Regions from separate parts of the Homo sapiens genome. Here all the other regions are linked to region 3. Evidence: promoter capture Hi-C in human tissues and cell types (Jung and others, 2019). All regions are on one chromosome and are shown on one strand. The core of a region is centred on a gene start or on the middle of the fragment in contact, and the rest is flanking DNA. Distances in the headings are between cores, read along the strand shown.

The links. The method cuts DNA at HindIII sites, captures the fragments that hold promoters and counts their contacts. A contact is called where the count stands out against the background at its distance.
Region 1: a fragment that was not itself captured here is called in contact with the fragment with the promoter of LARP6 in region 3 in 1 of the 25 tissues and cell types used here (pancreas).
Region 2: the fragment with the promoter of THAP10 here is called in contact with the fragment with the promoter of LARP6 in region 3 in 1 of the 25 tissues and cell types used here (psoas muscle).

The regions. Positions count from the first base shown.
Region 1 is chr15:70,812,148-70,814,847 of GRCh38, forward strand. No RefSeq gene overlaps it. Among named protein-coding and RNA genes, the nearest start is that of LARP6, 41 kb to the right of the region's middle. The HindIII fragment of the contact is 4,907 bases long and covers 1-2,700 here.
Region 2 is chr15:70,891,066-70,893,765 of GRCh38, forward strand. THAP10 (THAP domain containing 10) reads right to left here and starts at 1,368. Exons shown (of 3, transcript NM_020147.4): 1 at 779-1,368. The coding sequence starts at 1,207. It overlaps LRRC49 (leucine rich repeat containing 49), which reads left to right and starts at 1,761. Exons shown (of 16, transcript NM_017691.5): 1 at 1,761-1,877; 2 at 2,519-2,575. The coding sequence starts at 1,830. RefSeq lists an enhancer at 1,023-1,721. The HindIII fragment of the contact is 16,576 bases long and covers 1-2,700 here.
Region 3 is chr15:70,852,783-70,855,482 of GRCh38, forward strand. LARP6 (La ribonucleoprotein 6, translational regulator) reads right to left here and starts at 1,375. Exons shown (of 3, transcript NM_018357.4): 1 at 1,107-1,375. The coding sequence starts at 1,306. It also overlaps a transcript of LRRC49 not described here. RefSeq lists an enhancer at 764-1,265. The HindIII fragment of the contact is 12,354 bases long and covers 1-2,700 here.

The DNA of each region.
Region 1 (2,700 bases), core at 60-2,559, 41 kb before region 3:
TCACCTAGCTTCGTCGTTTATCAACCGTGCATCCTTTTCATTTTGGCAGTTGAGACTTGAGCATTGTTCTAGAGTGAGTCTTGAAATGTTGCCATCTTGTGGTAGAAGAGAGTAACTGCTTGTTTACTCTCTGTGGTCGTATTTATTTCAAGTACTGTATTTGTTGAGGTCCGCTCTGTATCAGGCACTGTACAATAATTGCAGTCATAACTTTACATTAAGAATAAGGGTCTGCTAGCCGGACGCGGTGGCTCAAGCCTGTAATCCCAGCACTTTTGGAGGCCGAGACGGGCGGAACACGAGGTCAGGATATCGAGACCATCCTGGCTAACACGGTGACACCCCCGTCTCTACTAAAAACACACAAAAAATTAGCTAGGCGTGGTGGCGGGCGCCTGTAGTCCCAGCTACTCGGGAGGCTGAGGCAGGAGAATGGCGTGAACCCCGGGAGGCGGAGCTTGCAGTGAGCCGAGATCGCACCACTGCACTTCAGCCTGGGCGACATAGTGAGACTCCATCTCCAAAAAAAAAAAAAAAAAAAAAAAAAATAAGGGTCTGCCTATGCTGTGGGAGCCTCTTCCTGGGATTGGTGGTGACTGCCATTCCAGACCCTCCATACCAACTGCATCGTGGGAAGCCAGTACCCTCACACCCCATTCTATTTGAGGTTTTACCCAGAATCTTGGATGCTGAAAGGAGCCTGATGGAACAATGCTACCTTAGTCTGCATCATTCATTTCAGGTGAATCAAAAGGTGACTTTTTCCAGCTGTGGCAATTTCCCAGTGGTTCTCAGTCCTGGCTGCACATTGGAATCACCTGCAGGCTTTTAAAAACCACAATGCCCAGGCTTTACCTCCCAGAGACTCTGATTTAATAGTGCAGGGTGAGGCACTGGTATTTTTATAGCTCTCTGGGTCAGGAATGAGAGATGCTATAACATTTAGGACGGGTCAGTCATCACCATTTTTATTGCTATTATAACTGGAAGAATTACCCTCCCAACCTTCCTGCATGCGCATACACACACAGACACACACACACACACACACACAGACACACACACCTCTGCCCCCTCACCACATTGGGACAGAAATTGGAGAACAGCATGCATGGCTCCATCATCTAAAAACTTCATTTGTCTCTCACATTATAAATAATACTTTCCAAGCTTTTGGGGCAATGGGGCGGGGGGGGGGTCTTTGAGACGCTTTACAAGTTACTAGCAAAGGTATATGGCCAACAGGCCCCTTTTCTTATTCTTGGTCAGTCGAAGGGAGCACCATTTGAAGGTAGGATGGATGGAAAATTGAGCAAAAGAATACATTCTGGTCACCAAAACGATGTAAAGTGAAACTCCAAGGCACAGCCTGGTAGAGTATGGACAGTTTGGGAAAAATAAGGTTTGTTTTCTTTTTAAAGGTAAAATCTATGCTATTTCTGGGAATTAATGTTTGTCAGGGGAGAGTGTGTGCATGCACCGACTATTATTCCAGGAGCATTAGGAGGAATAAAGACATCTCTTTTCCATTCACTTTGGTAGGGACAACTTAAGGGGAAACAAGCATGAATCCCTGCATCCCCGACAGCTCGTCTGGCTCTGAGGGACTTGGAGAGCCCAAGTTTGTCTTGGACCAGTTTGATGAGCTACCAGGTGCAATTCTGAATGGAATAACTAAGACTTGGCTAAATCAACTCTCGGGGGGAGTTGGGTAGGGTGTGGGAGAGCCTTGTGTGACAGACCAGTCCCTGTAGGTGGGAGGTGAAGTTTCTCAAACACAGGAGAGGATACATACCTGTCTTAGTGGATTTTTTGCTGCTACAACAGAATACCATAGACTGGGTAATTTATAATGAACAGAAATTTATTTGGCTCATGGTTCTGGAGGCTGGGAAGTCCAAGATCAAGTTGCCACATCTGGGAAGGCCTTCTTGCTGTCATAACATGGCGGAGGGCATCACACAGGCAAGAGTGCACACACGTGAGAGGGAAGGGGGCTGAAGTAATCTTCTCAGGAGGAACTCATTCCTGCAATAATGAACCCAATCTCATGAAAACAGTATCAATCCACTCATTGGGTACAGCCCGCATGGCCTCATCTCTTAGAGGTCCCACCTCTTAATACTGTTACACTGGGGATTAAGCTTAATGCCTTTTGGGGGACACATTTGAACCACAGCAACATTCCAGAGGGGGAAGGTTTGAAGGAGGCTGTGTCTCTGAAAGGAAGGTAGATATAAAGTCAAAAGAACAAGATTAAAAACTGAAAGGCACCACCTAAAGAGTCTCCAGTTTTCCATGGAAAACCATTCAATGAAATGTTTAATTCATTGAATGGTTTTCCTTGGGAGCACAAGAAAAATGGTATTGATGGCCATTTAAAACTTTTCTCTGATATGTTGTGACTTTCTTTAATTTTCCCACCTTGAGTAAAGTTGGATATATTTATTCACTTTTGTGTGGTTATGTCATGAAGACAGGAGAGACACATTTGCTGCCTCCCAATGCTCGGAGATCATTGTGCAGGAAGCAGCAGGATGCTGGGGCAGGCTTGCCCAGTGATGACCTGAACTGGGGACCACAAGGAACCAAGAGCTGCCAGAAGACAAAAGAGCTCAGAGGGATGGAGGCCAGGGGAAAACTGAGATGTGGGAGTAGGAAGACAACTCCACCCCACCACCACTAAATACAGGAGCACGT
Region 2 (2,700 bases), core at 118-2,617, 38 kb after region 3:
ACAGACCCCTGAGGAAATTACTAACCTCTTGCTATAATTTAATCTGTGTAATGGTGGCAAGGCTGAAGTTTATCACAAGGAAGGCTGGAAAGTTTTCTTTAAAATGGTACGTGGGGAAGAAGGTAGTAGTAACCAGATGCAAAATGAGTGCAAACAATGTTTAGAAGGAACAGAAAAGTAGGCAGAAGAGAGCAAGATGGGGAAAGTCAGCTCACTAGGGATACTGAACTTAAAGGCAGCTGGAGCTAGTTATCAGTCATAAAGGAAGCTTGGGGTGGGAAGGGATTTATTAGCAAGCTCCATCATCTTCATCTGTAGCTCCACATCTCCTTCGCCCCATCATTTGTGACACAAATAAGGGACTTTCCTCAAGCTTATGTAATGTTATGCAACACAGTTTCAAGCACTCCAATCCTGGAGATTTGCTCAAATTAAACCCTTTCTATTTAAAAACTCTGGAGCAGCGAGTGAAAGCAACTCACTACTCTGCAGGACAAGACTCTGTGTGTGTGTGTGTGTGTGTGTGTGTGTGTGTGTGTGTGTGTGTGTGTGTGAGTTTTGGGGGAGGAGCAGTTAGAAGGAATTAACTGGGTCACTTAATTCCAAAGTGTTAATGATAAGTGGGACCTTGGAGATCACCTCTAAAGCACACCCCTAACTTTGCAGATTAGAAAACAGGAACTTTCGAGATGAGGTGCCTTTCCCAAGGTGACACTAAGTGGAGGAGCCCAGCCAGAGTCCAGGGGTCCTTACACAACCTTCGGTGGTCTCTCTTTACCTGTGAAGCTGCAGCCTGCTTCCCAGCTCGGGGGCGTGTACAGGAGACTGGACCTGGGGCAGCCTCAGAATGCCTGGCTGCCTGGAGCTCTCCTCGCGTGTCCAGGCGGCCTGCTTGGTCTCCCTCCTCTCCCCTCTTAGGTGCCGGGGCGGGCACCCGGTGCAGGGTGGGCACGGCGCCTGCCACCAGCCTCAGGCGCTGGGAGAAGCGCAGGTTCTTCTGGATAACCGAAGAGACGTCAAAACAGGCTGGGGCAAAGTGGTCAGAGCAGATGACCGAGCGGTCATTGCCTCCGTACCAGTCGGCGCGGCAACCCCGCACGAAGCGGTCCCAGAGCAGCCGCACGGCCCGGTCCTTGGGAAAGCGGAACAGCGACTTCCCAGACTTGGTGGTGTTGCCGCAGTGGGCGGCCACACAACGGGCCGGCATGGCGGCCGTCTTCGGTGCGCGGGAGCCGGGTTCCCTGGACCTTCGCCCTTGGGCACGCTCCTCGCAGCGGCCTCGGCGAGGCAAGTCCTCCCCTCCTCACCTGTCCACTCCGGGTCGGGATTGTTTCCTTCCCTACCTCTGGTCACCGGAAGTGGCGATCTGGGGCCCCCAATGGGAGGGCTCTTTGATATCTTCCTCCTCCTCCTCCCTGCGCTGCTCCCCAGGAGCCAGTGGACACAAGCAGAGGGATACAAATTTCGCGCGGGCAGCGCTGAGGTGGGCCGTAAAGAGGAACGGACCGGAAGTGGTGGTGGTTATAGCAACCAGTGTGGCCAGCCTCTTCCCCAGCTTATCCTCCTCCCAATACTCCCGCTCTGTTTTTATGAGGCTGGGAAAATAGAACGAGGAAGTGGTGACGCACTGGGCTCTCACGAATACAACTAGAAGCTGCAACGACTGTGTGGCTCTATCGATTCGGGAGAGGTCCAGACCGGAAATGGTCGTTTCCATGGTAACCCTGAGCAGGTTGCCTGGGAGATGACCTCTTTCGGGTCTCTTTGAATCTCCGCTGTAGCGTCACCTGGAAGGCAGATCTAACAGAGAACCTGGACTGTCTCCTATCATGATTCCCGGGAAATATCGCTCTGTTTCTGGCCGGGCTGCGAACAACGTAAGTTGGGCCTTCTACTTTCTCTTTCTTCCCACTGGTACTCTTTCTGACTGGCGTCTTTGTCCTAGGAGATGGGCTGTATTATTAGGACCGGCACCGCTGGGTCTACTCAAGCTATTGTCTGACCAGGGTTTGAGGTTCGTGGGCTGGACCAAGGCACAATTTAATATTGTATGATGGGTACTCAAAGTCTTGTCCAGGATCTGGGCTCCCCAGAAGGTGGAGCTGGTCTGCTGTGAAAGGCTTGGGTTTATTTAAATTCCTTTGGCCAGTCAATTCCTTTTTCTTTTCTTTTCCTTTTAACTGTGAAGAGAATTTATCATTAGGGACTCCCACCTCCTTCACCTGTCTCATTGAGATGTTTATTTAGACCTGAATGGCAAATGTCGAAAGCCTGAGGTACTAACTAGAGGGTTAAATTGCTGCCGACATTTTGGAAAATAAATCAGTGAAACCTTTTAATTCTTAGATGTGATTTTATTGTTTTCAGCAAATCCTCAGAACAAGATCATTTACCAGAAACAGAAATAGAGCATTGTGTTCTATTTTTTTGTTGTATTTCTGTTTGTACCTTTTTTTTTTTTGGAAATATGTGTTTGTGTATTAAGAGCAAATTTTATGGTTTAATTTTTACATTTCAGGTGAACTGCGGGCTTCATCTGGTTATTCAAACATCATCGCTTCCTGAAAAAAACAAAGTAAGATTTAAGAAGGTTGGCATTTAAATTGAAGATTGTTTTAAATTCTACACAAATAGCAGCATGACTTAAAGTGTAGATAGATTCTAAACTGAAAAATTTAAGTAGATTTGCTTTGATTTCCA
Region 3 (2,700 bases), core at 125-2,624:
TGCCCCGAATCTCTGGGTCCAGAAGTCTGACCCTTTAACCTGGGGAAGGGTGAGCCAGTAATAGAGAATGGCTCTGGGCCCAGTATTCTTCCACCCTTGAGTTGAGTATTCTCCCAGTGAAGTAGATATACGCTTGCCAGGACAATCCTGCAGAACCTTAACAGCTAAACGCCTGGGACAGGGTCCTAGAAGAAAGAGAGCTCCTAATAAGTGCCTGTTGGCATCCACCAGAATGTGCAAGTTCTGTCATTTCCCCACTCTCATGTCTATGTCTATGTTTTATCTCCTTTCAACAGCAGGAACAAAACACCAGTCCTTAAGGGCCTGGGCATTAGTGGACAGGAGCCAAGGTGCCTGAGGACAAAGCTCGGGACCCGGGACAAGGTTAAACAAGTGCCATAGCAGCTCCAAACTACCCAAAACCCAGGAACACCCCCCCCCCGCCCCCCGCAAGGCAGCAAGATGATGCAAACATAAAGGTCTGGTGGGAAAGGCTGTGTGAAAATGGGAATCCCCCAGGGCGGAGGAAGTAAAGCAGCAAGTCCTCTATCCGTCTCAAATTACCTTGAAATCCCACCTCCTGGAATCCCCCATCAGCAAGTGTCCGCTGTACCTGGCCTGCTACCACCTAAAGACTGAGCGCAGCCAGCAGGACTGGGAAAGGCAGGGCGATGATGGCAGTGAAGGGTAAGCGGGACCACTCGCAAGGGGAGGGGAAGGCGGGTAGGGATGGACTTTGCGGCGATGGGGAGGTGGTGTCTTGAGGGAGCCCACAGAGAAGAGGCCTCCTCCAGAGGAGGGGGTGGCTTGGATGGCCCGTGAAAGTCCTCCTCCTGGATCCCTGAACATCCCCACGTCCAGGCCCCTCAGATCCCGGCCGCCAGCCCTGGGAGCCTCGGTTGGGCGACGAAGCTGCGGGCTGGGGCACCGGCTGCCTCCACGGGCCGGTTCTGACTCAGGGGCTCGGCCCGGAGCTGCTTCCCCGGCGGCGGGGCTGACTCAACCCCCTCTGCCCGAGGAGTTGTCGCGCGCAGTCAGCGCCCCGAACTCGCGCGCGGCCCGGCGCCCCCTCGGGGCCCACCTCCCGGGCCAGCCGCCGCGCCTACCTGTGCCCGCGGCTCGGCTCCTCCTCGCTCGCGCTGCCCCAGCCGGGGCTGAGGTACCGGGCCGGGTCCCCGGCGCCCCGAGTCTCCGCCCCCTCCTCCTCGTCCTCCAACTCGTCCACGTCCTCGGCCTCCTGGATGGCGACGCGGATCTGCACCGCCGTCTTGGGCCCGGGCCGAGCCTCCCCGCCGGACTGGGCCATGGCTCGCGGGACTGCGGCGCCGCCGGGGTCCTCACGCCGCAAGGCCCAGCCAGCCGGTCGGCAGCGACTGCGACGAGGGGGCGGGGGCGGTGCGAGCGCGCCTGCCGCTCGGCCCAGGGGAGGGACAGGGGTCGCGGCGCCCCGCCCCGCGCCGCCGCCGCCGCCGCCGCCGCCGCCACCACCCCGACCGCTAGTGGAGCGCCCGCGCAGGCGGGGCCTCGGAGGTGGAGGGCGGCTTTCCGGAGCTCCTCCGACGGAGGCCCGTCCCGGAAGGATCCCCGCGACCCCCGATCACTCCCTCCGTCTTTTCGCCGCTGTGGGGCCCCAGCCCGAGAGGAGGTGTCAGGGCTCCCTCCTCCTGCGCCTTCTTTCACGGCGCCGCAGGGATGGGCGCAGCACAGCTGACTTCTGTTTGTGCTTGACTCCGGGGGTGGCAGCCAGAGACCACAGCTCCAGGGGCTTCCAGGCCTCCTGCGTGTCTCCCCCACTGGCCTGCCAAGATCAGAAAATTTCCATCGTTAGTCTCCTTGACATAATAACCACCCTAGACCGCGTCTTAGGAGGTCAGGGGCTTGGCTCCTGCCTTGCCCTGTATCAGTTTTTCTCCAAGTGTGGTTCCCAGACCAGGAGCATCAGCTGCACCGGGGAACTTGTTAGAAATTGAATTCTCAGGGCTCATCCAGACCTCCTGAATCAGAATCTATGATTCAGAACTTTGTGTTTTAACAAGGCCTCTAGGTGATGCTGAAGTTCACAAAAGTTCGAAAGCCGATGGCCTATAGAGTATGCCCTGCACATAGTATGCACTCAGATGTTTGTTGAATGAATAAAGGGAGCTATTGAAATGTCAGGATGTTCTAAAACACTGCCACCTTTTCACGTGTAACTTCAAATTGAGTTCCATCTCACCTCTCCAAATGTGACCCAGAAACTAGGGACAGGAGCATAGAAATGAATAAGACCGGCCGGGCGCAGTGGCTCAAGCCTGTAATCTCAGCACTTTGGGAGGCCCAGGCGGGCGGATCACGAGGTCAAGAGATCGAGACCATCCTGGCCAACATGGTGAAACCCTGTCTTTACTAAAAAAAATACAAAAATTAGCTGGACGTGGTGGCACGTGCCTGTAATCCCAGCTACTCGGGAGGCTGAGGCAGGAGAATCACTTGAACCTGGGAAGCAGAGGTTGTGGTGAGCCGAGATTGTGCCACTGCACTCCAGCCTGGGCAACAGAGCGAGACTCCGTCTCAAAAAAAAAAAAAAGAAAAAGAAAAAAAAAGAAAGAAGGAAAGAAGAAAAAGAAATGAATAAGACCTGAATCTGCTTTCATGTAGCACTTTATTTAGAGCCTTAAACATAATTTATCATATTAATTTGCCACACTGGGACCCCAAAAC